Linked DNA regions of Homo sapiens: all the other regions are linked to region 1. Evidence: promoter capture Hi-C in 16 types of primary human blood cells and fetal thymus (Javierre and others, 2016). All regions are on one chromosome and are shown on one strand. Each heading gives the region's core, a stretch centred on a gene start or on the middle of the fragment in contact. The rest is flanking DNA. Distances are from core to core; before and after follow the strand shown. Region 1 holds the start of WWOX (WW domain containing oxidoreductase). Region 2 has its middle 3.8 kb from the start of GCSH. Region 3 has its middle 5.5 kb from the start of GAN.

Region 1 (4,281 bases), core at 1-2,500:
TTTTATTTTCCTTCCTTCCTTCCTTCCTTCCTTCCTTCCTTCCTTCCTTCCTTCCTTCCTTCCTTCCTCCCTCCCTCCCTCCCTCCCTCCCTTTCTTTCCAGATTCTGGACCTATTCCAGACTTACTAAAGGAAATTCTCTAAAGGTGAGGCAGTTTTTTAAAGACAGCAGCTCTCTCTGTCGTCCATGCTGGAGTGCAGTGGCCCGATCATAGCTCACTGCAGCCTCGACTTCTTGGGCTCAAGTGATCCTCCCCCTTCAGCCTCAATGAGTAGCTGGGACTACCGATGTGCACTACCACGCCCGGCAAACTAAAAAAATAATTATTTTTGGTAAAGACAGGGGTCTTGCGATGTTGCCCAGGCTGTTCTCAAACTCCTGGCCTCAAGTGATCCTCCTGCCTCAGCCTCCTAATGTGTTTGGATTACAGGCATGAGCCACTGAGCCCGGCCTAGCTACCCTGTCTGAGTTGTGCCCACTACACAAAGGTGTCAGCTACATGTGATGTCTGTGCATTTCTGGCCTGGACCGCACATTAAGTGCTCCGTAAACATCAGTCTCTATTATCAACAGTCTCTATTATCAATCAGTCTCTATTATCATCAGTCTCTATTATCATGAGTCTCTATTAAACAACAGTCTCTATTATCACAGTCTCTATTATGTGTTTTGGCTGAAAGAAAGTTCTCTAAAACCAGGAAATCAGGAATCAGCAGTTTTAAGTTCTCCAGGTTATATTTTAACATTGTGTTCATATGCAAAACAAAGGTTGTGAATCAGCACGAATGCTGGCAAGCCCTGGAAGGTTTGTGATCACGGACTTTCACGAGACCCCAAGGCAAGGAGAGACAGAAGCCCAGGACAACAGCATGGGCGCCGCTTTTTAGTCGGGCGCCGCTTTTTGGTCAGGCGCCACCTGGACTACATTTCCCATATCCAATTGCCGGGCTCCTGCAGGATTGGCCAGAACAACGCGGAAGTGATTACGGGTCGCCCAGCAACGGGCGGAGTCCTGGCCCGAAACTGGATGCGCACGCCCCTTCCCTGCGGCGGGGAGGCTGACAAGGCTCCGCTCTATCTCTAGCGCCTCGGAGCGCTCTCCGGCTTTGCTGTCTAGCCCGGCGGCAGCGCGATCTCTTAGGCACTTTCACCGCCTTCCTCTCCAGGCCCTGCCCCTTTGACGCCGGCCGTCGCGATATTGCGGAGACTGGATTTCAGCTTCGTGGTCGGCGGAGCGGCCCCTGGAGGGCGCAGTGCGCAGGCGTGAGCGGTCGGGCCCCGACGCGCGCGGGTCTCGTTTGGAGCGGGAGTGAGTTCCTGAGCGAGTGGACCCGGCAGCGGGCGATAGGGGGGCCAGGTGCCTCCACAGTCAGCCATGGCAGCGCTGCGCTACGCGGGGCTGGACGACACGGACAGTGAGGACGAGCTGCCTCCGGGCTGGGAGGAGAGAACCACCAAGGACGGCTGGGTTTACTACGCCAAGTAAGGGGGCCGCAGTGGGGCCGCGGACGCACCTGGGACCCTGCACAGCCCACGGACGCCACCTGCGCGGGGAGGACGCGCACTCCAGCGCAGCGCGTGCGGTGCAAAGTGAAAGTAACTGTTAAGGAGCTTCAGGGAAAAGGGTCCAGGGTTCCCAGTAGGGGCCGGCCCCCTTGGTGGGCCTCGGGTCCAGCGGGGGTCACCTGGTGGCTTCCCGGCGCGCCCTCTGCTGTTCAGGATGCAGCACTGCGCGGCGCGGCGAGGGCAAAGCGGCCTCATCCCCGCCAAAAAATAAAGATGTTTTAAAAAGCGCACATGCTCAGCTCCCTCCTGCAGGCTCTGGGTTGCAGGGATAGGAGTTTTGTTGTGTTTTGTTTTGTTTTGTCCAGACCGGTATTGCTCAGTCATCCAGGCTGGAGTGCAGGGGTGCCATCATAGCCCACTGTAGCCTCTACCTACTGGGTTCAGACAATCCTCTCATCTCAGCCTCTTGAGTGGCTGGGACTACAAGCGTGCACTACTATGCCCGACTAATTTTTTAAGTATTTGTAGAGACTAGGGTCGCACCATGTTGCCCAGGCTGGTCTCGAACTACTGGGCTCAAGCAGGCCACCTGCCTCAGCCTCCAGAATTGAGATTACAGGCGTGAGCCACTGCGCCTAGCCAGGAGTATTTTTTAGTAGCAGTCCTAGATAGCTTCACTATCATTTCCTGGGAAAGTTTTGGAAACCCCAGCAGAGCCTTCATCTTTAACTGTGTGACCTTGGGCCATTGAAATAACGTTTAATCTTGGTTTTTTCACCTGTAAAATGGGTTGATACGAGGGTCAGTTCAGGCACTGTGCGTAAAGCACATAGCACCGTGTCTAGTAGGTACTCTCTGTTCCTTAACTGTCGTTCCTTGATTGCTCTTAAGATACGACAGTGCCTCTTATATCGGCACCTTAGAATCACCTAGGAAATGTCCTAAATACACGTTTTGGGTCTCCATAGAGAACCTACTGTAGCCGACTCTCAACTTTGGGAGTCTCTTTTTTTAAGCTTTCCAGGTGAGGTGGAATATCACCTGGTTTTGAGAAACATGGATGTAAATCTGATTTTCAGCATCTGGGAAACTTTTTTTGTAAGAGCCTTTTTCTGGGCCCCACTTCCAGAGGGTTTTTCTTTTTTTTTTTTCTTTTGAGACGGAGTCTTGCTCTGTCGCCCAGGCTGGAGTGCAGCGGCGCGATCTCGGCTCACTGCAGCCTCCGCCTCCCGGGTTCACGCCATTCTCCTGCCTCAGCCTCCCGAGTAGCTGGGACTACAGGCGCCCGCCACCACGCCCGGCTAAGTTTTTGTGTTTTTAGTAGAGACGGGGTTTCACCGTGTTAGCCAGGATGGTCTCGATCTCCTGACCTCGTGATCCTCCCGCCTCGGCCTCTCAAAGTGCTGGGATTACAGGCGTGAGCTACCGCTCCCGGCCTTTTTTTTTTTTTTTTTAAAGACAGGGTCTCGCTCCGTCGCCCAAACTGGAGTGCCGTGGTGCGATCTCGGTTCACTGCAACCTCTGCATGCCGAGTTCAAGCGATTCTCGTGTCTCAGCCTCCCGAATAGCTGGGATTACAGGCGCCCGCCACCAGGCCTGGCTAATTTCGCGCTGTTGGCCCGGCTGGTCTCCAACTCCTGGCCTCAAGTGATCCGCCCACCTCGGCCCCCCAAAGTGTTGGCATTACAGACAGGAGCCACTGCGTCAGCCCAGAATTTCTGATTTAATTGGTTTGGCCCCTCCCCTCTCCCTTGGTAGGTTGTAAAATCTTCCCTCCCAGGTGATTCTAATCTATGCAAGGATGTGAACCACTGCTGCCTTTGGTGGCAAGGTAGAGGAAAAACAACCAAGTTCTGATGAGTTCATTCAAGACACACACAGGTATTATGTGACAGGCCTTTGGCTGGCACTGGTTATACCGAGGCAAATAAGAGCCAGTTGTCATCCTTAGGACCCAATCTTATTAGGGCACAGTGACATGTGTAGGAGCGTCCCCACGCAGTGTGTATACCAGGAAGTAGTGTGTCTGGCATGAGGTGTGTGTAGGTAGTTGGGGGGGTCGTGAGGGAATATGGTGGCACCCTCACAGTAACCTTCACTTCCTGGGCTCAAGCGATCCTCCCGCATCAGCCTGTTGAGTACCCGGGACCACAGGTGTGTGCCTCCACACCCAGCTAATTATTACATGTTTTGTAGAAATGGGGTCTCACCATGTTGCCCAGGCTGGTTTGAACTCCTGAACTCAAGCCAGCCTCCCTCCCGAAGCACTGGAATCACAGGCCTGAGGCACTGTGCCAAGCCCAGAGCGGTGTTTTGAGCTCAAGTAGAGGTGGGTGGGGCAGGAGGGCAGTCTAGGTAGAGGGAACAGTGAGAGGAGAGACCCCCTGCATGGCCTGTCCAGGGGCCTGTGATCTTTGTGAGGGTCCAGGAATGTGAAGGTTAAGGCAGGGAAGGGAGGACCCATTTCAAGGATTTCTGTGCCTTGCCGAGAAGCTTGGGCTCTGTTGGCAGAGCCAGAGAGTGGCATTCATTCAGCTTGTGAATTCTGGAAGAATTTCTGGCTCTGGAGAATTAAAGGGACATTTCCAGCAGCAGAGCTCCAGTAGCCTTTGCAGGGACGGAGGCAAGCTCCTGAGCGGGCACTTGCTGTTCCTCTCACCTGTACATCTGTTGGGGAAAGGCTCCTTCTCATCCTTCAGAGCTGAGCTTACATGTCACTGCCCAAGAGACCTTCTTAACTGTGGGTGTCCCCTCGACCTTGTACTAGTCACCTTG
Region 2 (4,641 bases), core at 1,502-4,001, 3.0 Mb after region 1:
TTTTTTTTTAACATGCTAATGCATTATAATTAGCGTATAATGAGCAGTGAGACCTACCAGAGGTCGCCATCTTGGTTTTGGTGAGTTTTGGCCAGCTCCTTTACCGCATCCTATTTTATCAGCAGGGACTTTGTGACCTGTATCTTGTGCCAACCCTAGCTCATCCTGTGACTAAGTGAGGCAGGTGAATCACTTGAGGTCAGGAGTTCGAGACCAACCTGGCCAACATGGAGAAACCCCCGTCTCTACTACAAATCCAAAGTTTAGCCAGGCATGGTGGCAGGTGCCTGTAATCCCAGCTACTCAGGAGGCTGAGGCACGAGAATCACTTGAGCCTGGGAGGCAGAGGTTGCAGTGAGTCGAGATCACGCCACTGCACTCCAGCCTGGGTGACAGAGCGAGACTCTGCTTCAGAAAAAAATACAAATAAAAAGAATGCCTAACCTCCTGGGAATGCAGCCCACCAAGTCTCAGCCTCATTTTACCCAGCCCATATTCAAAATGGAGTTGTTCTTGTTCAAACACCGGAAACAGTACCATAGGGTGCACACCATGGAGTGTGTGTGTGTTTGGGGAGCCCATACGTTGTTGCACTGAGCTTCTGCCCTGCTATGAACTTAGGGTTGCCACCACATCTGTGCAGTGGCTTGCAAGGGCCGTCATGCCCACTTTCTTTTGAGCAAATCATTCCCATCTATTGAGCCTTTGCTATGTGCCTGGCACTATGCACACATCTTTTTAATCCTCTCCAAACCTCTTTCTGGCAGGTGTTACACTCATTTCATAGATGAGGCTCAGAGGTGAAGGCACTTCCGAGGAGTGGGATCGGGGAGGCGTTTTTGTGGCTTAAGTAGCTCCTAGGTGGCAGTAGTAGACCTTGGCCTCTACACTGATTAGAAAGCAACTCTTCTTTTTTTCTTTTTTTTTTTCGAGACGAAGTCTAGCTCTGTCGCCCAAGCTGGAGCGCAGTGGCGTGATCTTGGCTCACTGCAACCTCTGCCTCCCGGGTTCAAGCAATTCTCCTGCTTCAGCCTCCCGAGTGGCTGGGACTACAGGACCACGTGCCACCACGCCCGTCTAATTTTTGTATGTTTAGTAGAGATGGGGTTTCACTATGTTGGCCAAGCTGGTCTCGAACTCCTGACCTTGTAATCCACCCACCTCGGCCTTCCAAAGTGCTGGGATTACAGGCATGAACCACCGTGCCTGGCCAGCAATTGCTCTTAAGCTCTGCTCCGCTTGCTTTCGTTTGGGATGCTGACTGGATCACGCTGGTCTACCCTGCACTACAGATCTTGGCTACCTTCTCTAATGTCAAGATGTTGTTTTCTATTGTTGTTTCATTACAAGACAGTGCAGCATCGTGCCACTTACACCCTAACATATTTATTCTCAGCTTCACTAACTCATGTGATGGGAAGAAAAAGATCACACATCAACATCAACATATGGGCTACAAAAAGGCCCTTCCACCAAAAAATATGACATGTGTTTTTCTTTTGGTAAAAAGCATTGAAGACAGTCAAAATTTTTTTTCTTTTTCTACCTAGTAATCTTTGTAACCTCCTGGTTTGAGATTTTAAAGGTCATCTCGTTGCCCATTGAGTATAAGCTCTGGAAAATTCCAGGTGGTCATTTCTTCCAGGTGTTTTGAGAGGGGCCCATTCATCTCTTTGAGCTGATAGACATATTTTCCTCTTATAACAATACAGTAGACTGGGTGCGGTGGCTCATGCCTGTAATCCCAGCACTGTGGGAGGCCTAGGTAGGCAGATCACTTGAGGCCAGGAGTTCAAGACCAGCCTGGCCAACATGGTGAAACCCCGTCTCTACAAAAAAATACAAAAATTACCCAGGCATGCTCTTGTGTGCCTGTAGTCCCAGATACTGGGAAGCCTGAGACACAAGAATCATTTGATCTTGGGAGGCAGAGGTTTCAGTGAGCTGAAATCATGCCACTGCATTCCAGCCTGGGCAACAGAGCAAGACCCTGTCTCAAACAAACAAACAAACAAACAAAAAAACTTTTATAAACCAGTATTCCCCATATTTATTTGACCCAGAAACATTTTTGGAGGAATGACACCTGTTCTGGTTTGAATTGTGGCTCCTAAAGAGGTATGTCAAAGTCCTAAGTCCCAGTTCTTCAGATGTGACCATATTGGGAAACAGGATCCCTGCAGATGTATTATAATTAGTTCAGATGAGGTCACCCTGGACTAGGGTGGGCCCCTAATTCAATATGGCTGGTGTGCTGAGAAAAGGAGAAGGAACACAGGCTCCCAGCAAGCTTCTTCCCATCTGGGAGTGACACATCTAGAAGCCAAGGGACACCAAGGCTGGCTGGCCAACACCAAAAGCTGGAAGAGGCAAGAAGGATTCTTCCCTAGAGCCCTCAGAGGGAGCATGGCACTGCCAACATCTTTTTTCTTTCTTTTCTTTTTTTTTTTTGTGAGACGGAGTCATGCTCTGTCGCCCGGGCTGGAGTACAGTGGCACCACCTAGGCTCACTGCAACCTCCGCCTCCCGGGTTCAAGGGATTCTCCTGCCTCAGCCTCCTGAGTAGCTGGGACTACAGGCGCCCGCCACCACACCTGGTTAATTTTTGTATTTTTAGTAGAGACAGGGTTTCACCCTGTTGGCCAGGCTGGTCTCGAACTCCTGGCCTCAAGTGATCCGCACGCCTCGGCCTCCCAAAGTGCTGGGATTACAGGCGTGAGCCACCATGCCCGGCCACTGCCAACATCTTGATTGCACACTTCCAGGCTCCAGAGCTGGGACAGAATGCATTTCTGTCGTTTTAAGCCACTTCGTTTGTGATACATTGTTCTGGGAAACTAATACAGCATCCATTAGCATCTCTCAGACAGTTTGAGAAGCCCTGAACTAGAATCATTCAAAAGCAACCCCCAACGGACTAAAAAGACGAAATAATTAGTCTGTGCAGGAAATTTTCCAAACTCCATGTAATATTTGTTTTATTTATAATAAGAGGAAATACATTTGAACAAAGAAGCTCTCATAGTATTGGCAATTTTACATATATCTCTGTTATTGTAATTTTTTTTACTTGCTGGGCTTGGTAATTCTTCAATGGACATGAAAGCTATGACCTAGAGAGACTATAGAGTCGCTGGTAAGCGTACGCCCGAGGCCCTGGGCGTCCCCACTGGTAGATGGTGGCGTGTGGACGAACAGCTTAGTCCTTGGGCAAAGCTTGTGCTGGTCGAGAGTGGCGAGTCTGGGACAGAGACCCAGGCTGCTCCCTGCTGCTTCCAGGCTCCTCTCTCTTAGACTTAATGCCCAGGAAACTGAGTATTTTCATCAGCAGCAAATCTACGATCTCCCCTTCCTCCGACAGCTGCAAGAGAAAGAACCAGGCAATGCCCATAGAACCATCTTCTTTGGGGGCTTTTCTTTCTAAGGGGAAGTCATAGTTTTTATTTTTATTTATTTTATTTTATTTTATTGTTTGAGATGGAGTCTCACTGTGTCGCCCAGGCTGGAGTGCAGTCGCACAATCTTGGCTCACTGCAACTTCCGCCTCCCGAGTTCAAGCGATTCTCCCGCCTCAGCCTCCCGAGTAGTTGGGATTACAGGCACCCGCCACCACGCTCAGCTAATTTTTGTATTTTTAGTAGAGAGAGAGTTTTACCATGTTGGCCAGGCAGGTATCAAACTCCTGGCATCTAGTGATCCACCTGCCTCGGCCTCCCAAAGTGCTGGGATGATTACAGGCTTGAGCCATCGCATCATCCCTGGCCGAAATCACAGTTTTATTGTCCAGTTTGGTCTCAACCTAGGTTACTTCACTGTTGAGAGCTGTTTTAGGGCAGAAAGGCCTCCCTCTGGGAATGCCAAGGGTGTGTGCTCCATCCTTTATCCTCAGCGGGCTCCCTCCACCTCTCTGATGAGGATGACTGAGTTTTCACTGCCACATTTCAAATTCCCAAGCCAGCGCAGAGTAAGCCTCGGCTGGGCGGCTGAGCCTGAAGTTAAACAGCACATGGGCCCCCTTCTGAGATGAGTGTCTCCCCTTTTCCTCTAGGTCAGAGTGTTGGTGGTGGCTCCTTCTTTCGTTCTTTTTTTTTCTGAGACAGAGTCTAGCTCTGTCGCCGAGGCTGGAGTGCAGTGGCTCAATCTCGGCTCACTGCAGCCTCCGCCTCCTGGATTCCAGCTATTCTCCTGCCTCAGCCTCCCGAGTAGCTGGGATTATAGGCACACACCACCACGCCCAGCTAATTTTTGTATCTTTGGTAGAGACAGGGTTTCACCATGTTGGCGGGGCTGGTCTCGAACTCCTGACCTCAGGTGATTCACCCACCTCAGCCTCCCAAAGTGCTAGGATTAGAGGCGTGAGCCTCTGGGCCTGGCCTTGTGGTTCTTTATTATTATTCCTTCTGCTTGCTCTGTTTACCTCCTGGCCTAGCCTGGTATGGGAGGAAGTTCTGGGAATGAAAAAATAAATAGATGTTTCTCTCTGGCTTTCCCACACTTCTCAACCATATACACATATTTAAGAGTGACTTAAAGCAAAGAAAGAACAACTTCTAGGAAACAGGAATGGCAGACTATAGGTACCAATGAGGCACGTTCAGTAAACTCGTCAGAAAATGCTCTCTACCACCCCAACAGAGGCTG
Region 3 (4,554 bases), core at 1,706-4,205, 3.2 Mb after region 1:
AACTCCTGACCTTGTGATCCGCCCGCCTCAGCCTCCCAAAGTGCTGGGATTACAGACGTGAGCCACGGCGCCCGGCCAGTTTCTTTTGGGTAGCACCGATTGGAAACGGGCCTTAGGGAGCCTCTGGGTTGCTGGAAATGTTCTATATTTTGACGTGGCTGGGGATTTCACACGTGTGAAATGTTTCCATTTCACATGGAAACATTCATTCAGCCGTGCACTTAAGATTAGTGCACTTTACTGTGTATTATACCTCAATAAAGACATTTTTAAAAGCTAAATGTATTAAAGTATTAATTAGTTTCAAAACTTACTGGTTAAAGAAGAGGTCTGACATATTTCAGAAAACACAAGGATGGATTTAAACATTAAAAAAAAATAAAGGCAAGGAACATGCAATAAAAGGTGTAGAATGGGATGTTTAAAGCCCTGGAGTAGAAAATGAAGATGTCAGGTGGAGTTAGAAAATAGATGAAATTCACCAAAAACCCAGCACTAATATTAGAGAAAAACAAGCAATGAGACTGTCAACCAGAACTGGAGGAGGTATCACTGGTGGGCCCTGACTGGGGGGTGAAGAGACTAATTGACTTGAAAGTCAACTAGAAGCTAATCATTTCTGAGCTGGGCAAGGATGCCATTGAAAACAAGAATGATGGTGGTGATAGTAATGATACATGTAACAGCTCTTAGCATTCACTGAACACCTGCTACGGGCCGGATCTTCTTGTCAGCACTTCATCACTGCTGTCTCATTTAATCCTCATAACCACTCTGTAAGAACTGCTACGATTGCCCCAGTTTTACAGAGGGAGAAATTGAAGAAGCAACTTCTAAGTCTGGGAGAACAGACCAAGAGGGAGGTTGTTAGGAAATCCCTTGAGTTAAATGAATTTAAATGACTTCACAGATATTTAAACAGATCTAAGGCACAGGCAAATTACTTATGTGATGTAAATTCTGCAGAATAATCCAGCTCATTGTACACCCAGCAGTATCCTGGCTAGAATTCTAGGGAGAAGACAAGCACCTTTTATATGCTTTCAGGTGTATAAACAACATAAAATATACAAACTAAATTTAAAGGGTGAAAAGTGCAAAGTGGTGTGTCTTGACAGGGGAGAATAAGGTTCTTGCACTGGACCTAGCTTGAAAGAAGTTATTGGGGCAACCTATGCCCAGAGCTACTATATTGTGACCTTCTAAGGTTTGGAACGTTTATTTCAGGTCCTTTGAATCAGTTTTGATAACTCATCTTCCTCCAAGTTGGCAATGTTAGGTTAGGCAGCAAGAGATGAAAAGGTCCAGGAAAATATTCATTCATTCATTCAATAAGTAAACATTTATTGAGCACATACTATATGCCAGGCATTGCTTTAGAGGCTAGGAATACAGTGATAAAATAAGAATCTTTGCCAGGCCTCATGAAGCCTTATAATCAGAAGAGACACATAATACACTAATAAACATATATAATTTTAGGTAGTGATTACATGCAGTGAAGAAAGATGAAGCCAGTTAAGGGGAGGCATTTATGCAGGAGTGTGAGCCAAGGCCTTTCTGAGGAGCTGACATTGCAGCTCTGATTTAAGAATGAAAGAGCAAGCTATGAGAATGTGAGGAAAGAGAGTTCCAGGCTGAGCAATTAGCCAGTGCAAAAGCCCTGAGGTGGGAATATACTAGGCTTGTTCAAGAAAGAGCAAGAAGGCCAGTTTGGTTGGTGCACACTGAGGGGAGAATGGCAGGAAATGAGGCCATGGAGGAAGCCAGATCACGCAGGGCTTTTTAGACCATGGTAAGGGCTTTGGGTTTTTTCCCTAAGTTTGAAGGAAAGCCATGGAAGAGCTTTGAACTGGGAAGTGACTTGATCTGATTACCTTAGGAGGAGAAACAATTCATAAGGGGGCAAGAGAGAAAGCAGGGGGAGCAGTTAGGAGGCTGTTGCAGGAGAGCTGAATGGTACCTGGATCAGCGTGGTCTTGGTGGAGGTGGGGAGGAGTGGCTGGATTCAGAAGTTAGCCTGCAGGGCCGGGCATGGTGGCTCACACCTGTAATCCCAGCACTTTGGGAGGCTGAGGTGAGCGGATCACCTGAGGTCAGGAGTTCGAGACCAGCCTGACCAACATGGTGAAATGCTGTCTCTACTAAAAATACAAAAATTAGCTGGGTGTGGTGGTGGGCACCTGTAATCCCAGCTACTTGGGGAGCCTGAGGAAGGACAATCACTTGAATCTCAGAGGTGGAGGCTGCAGTGAGCCACTACACTCCAGCCTGGGTGACAGAGCAAGACTCTGTCTCAAAAAAAGAAAAAAGAAAAGAAAAGAAAAGAAAAAAAAAAGTAGTCTGCAGGAAGAGCTGCAGGATTCACTAGAGAATTGGATGAAGGGTATGAGAGACAGAGGTCAAGAATGACCCTAAGTTTCTGTCTCTAGGTAAATGAATGCTGCTGCCATTTACTTGGAAAATGAGTAGGTTTAGGGGTAAAATCAGGACTTTTTGTTTTTTTTTTTTGAAATGGGGCCTTACTGTGTCTCCCAGGCTGGAGTGCAGTGGCATGATCACGGCTCCCTGCAGCCTCGACCTCTTGGGCTCAAGTGATCCTCCCACCTCAGCCTCCCGAGTAGCTGGGACTAAAGGTAGGTGTCACCACACCCAGCTAATTTTTTTTTTTAAGTAGAAGCTTACTTTCTGAGGTGTTAAATTCTAGGTTTCTATTATTCAAATGGCAATGTTAAGCAGGCTGGTGAATATTTCCGTTTTGAGTTCATTGGGGAAATATGAAAAATAACATGTGAAGTAATCCCTTGTAAACAGAAAAATCTCAATTCTATTAGAATTTATTCCTTCAGCAAATATTTATTGGGCACCTACTGTGTGTCAGGCACTGTACTGGGTGCTGGGGTAGAATACATGATGAATTTGGATAGGAACAGTTACGACCTTCATGGAGTTTCATTACAATTTAATTAGTTCACCGGTTTCTGAGACACTTCTCTGAGTACTGTGTAAATATATAGAACCAACTCTGAAGCGTTATAAATACTGAGATGTTCTCTGACTCAGCAATTTGAAAGAGCCTAGACTTTTTTTTGGAAAGAAAACAGCTATATATAGATTTGGACAAATGAAAGATTTACCCAATAAAATATCTGAAGACTACCTTAAAATGAATCAGAAGAGACTGTCTCAAACAAATGAATGTTTATGACAAGTCGACTTGGTGTAATGGAAAAGCTTACAGGGCTGGAAAGCAGAAGATCTAGACCTTAGTCTGTTCTGCCCTGACTGGGTCACACCTATAACCTTGACTGAGTCATTTGCTCATCTGTACTTTGGTTTTCTCTTCAATAAGATAAATCCGTTGGACTTGATATTTGCTAAAGAATTTTCAAACTGTTAATATTTTCTTTGCATTATTTCTCTTACTGGACTCTCTAAGTAGTTTTTAGGAAATAAAAGCCCAACCCCCCAAGTGGATTCCTCTCTTGAGGGCACATTTTTCAAAGCAAAAGAAAGCTTTTTTTTCCCTTTTTGCAAAAAGACATTGCTTTCTTGTTTTTTTAATGATTGTAAAAAATTATGCATGATCAGTACAGAAAATAGAAATCGAGGAAAATACAGAGTAAAAGCTTCTATAATAACACTGAGACAACTATACTTTCACCATCACTGTATCTGTAGCAGGTATCGTACAGCAGGTGCTTTAAAAACAGTTGTTGAATGAATGATTACTGTTAATATCTTGCAAACATCCTTTTTGGTCTTCAGACCAAAAACGAATACATAAATAAATCCTTTCTCTGGGTTGTTTCACCTCTAAACCAGAAGAGCTCAGTAAAGCCACCAGAGACTAAAGCTGTTAGGACAATATCAAATCTCTTACATTGTAATATGTTTCACAATGACAGTTGATATCTGATGCCTATGGAATATAAGGAAACAATAACATTTAATCCATCATTCTGATAGGCACAATATCAAGGGTGGCTCAGTTTGAGCAATATCAAGAAGGCTGCAAAACAGTCCACAGTACTTCAGCTCAAGCAAGAGTGGCTCCGGCAGCACTGGGAGAGTTGGCTCTGCCTCCTGAATCCTTCTTCCCACACTTGGGCCCTCTTCCTTGCCCACAGCACCAGGAGGAGCTTTCTGGGGCATGTGAATTCCACTCAACACATTTTATTGGCAACCTAGCAGCCATTTGATTGTCGACTACATTTTCAGTAAACTAATCGTTTCCTGATTACCTCTGAACATGAATTACAGCCAGATCTTGTCTGTAGACCCATGCTACATTTTTTCCTCCAAATGGAATTAGTTGCTAATGTTGAAAATCCGGAATATTCAACATGTAAAGTCTGAATTGTCAGAATCTCTTAAAAAGTTGTTAGATCCACCACCACTGGGCCCCTATCGCACAGAGCAATCAATCAGAGCTGAGGAGCATGTGCTCTTCAGCTCCCATAAGCCCACCTACTCCTATTGTCTGACATCCCACATCCCACAGTTTGCTTTGCTAATTTACCTGATACGCTCCTGCTAATTATGTAAAACATT

What was found. Contacts are between HindIII fragments. The CHiCAGO score rates a contact against its expected background, and 5 or more counts as called.
Region 2: a contact is called between a fragment that was not itself captured here and the fragment with the promoter of WWOX in region 1, in 9 of 17 cell types (non-activated CD4 T cells, naive CD8 T cells, activated CD4 T cells and 6 more). The highest score is 22.8, in non-activated CD4 T cells.
Region 3: a fragment that was not itself captured here is called in contact with the fragment with the promoter of WWOX in region 1 in 7 of 17 cell types (non-activated CD4 T cells, naive CD4 T cells, naive CD8 T cells and 4 more); the score reaches 16.9 in non-activated CD4 T cells.

Annotation. Positions count from the first base shown.
Region 1 is chr16:78,098,404-78,102,684 of GRCh38, forward strand. WWOX (WW domain containing oxidoreductase) reads left to right here and starts at 1,251. Exons shown (of 9, transcript NM_016373.4): 1 at 1,251-1,482. The coding sequence starts at 1,376. RefSeq lists an enhancer at 1,485-1,984. The HindIII fragment of the contact is 3,217 bases long and covers 1-2,520 here.
Region 2 is chr16:81,097,924-81,102,564 of GRCh38, forward strand. It overlaps the pseudogene PKD1L2. Among named protein-coding and RNA genes, the nearest start is that of GCSH, 3.8 kb to the left of the region's middle. The HindIII fragment of the contact is 926 bases long and covers 2,289-3,214 here.
Region 3 is chr16:81,307,187-81,311,740 of GRCh38, forward strand. No RefSeq gene overlaps it. Among named protein-coding and RNA genes, the nearest start is that of GAN, 5.5 kb to the right of the region's middle. The HindIII fragment of the contact is 554 bases long and covers 2,679-3,232 here.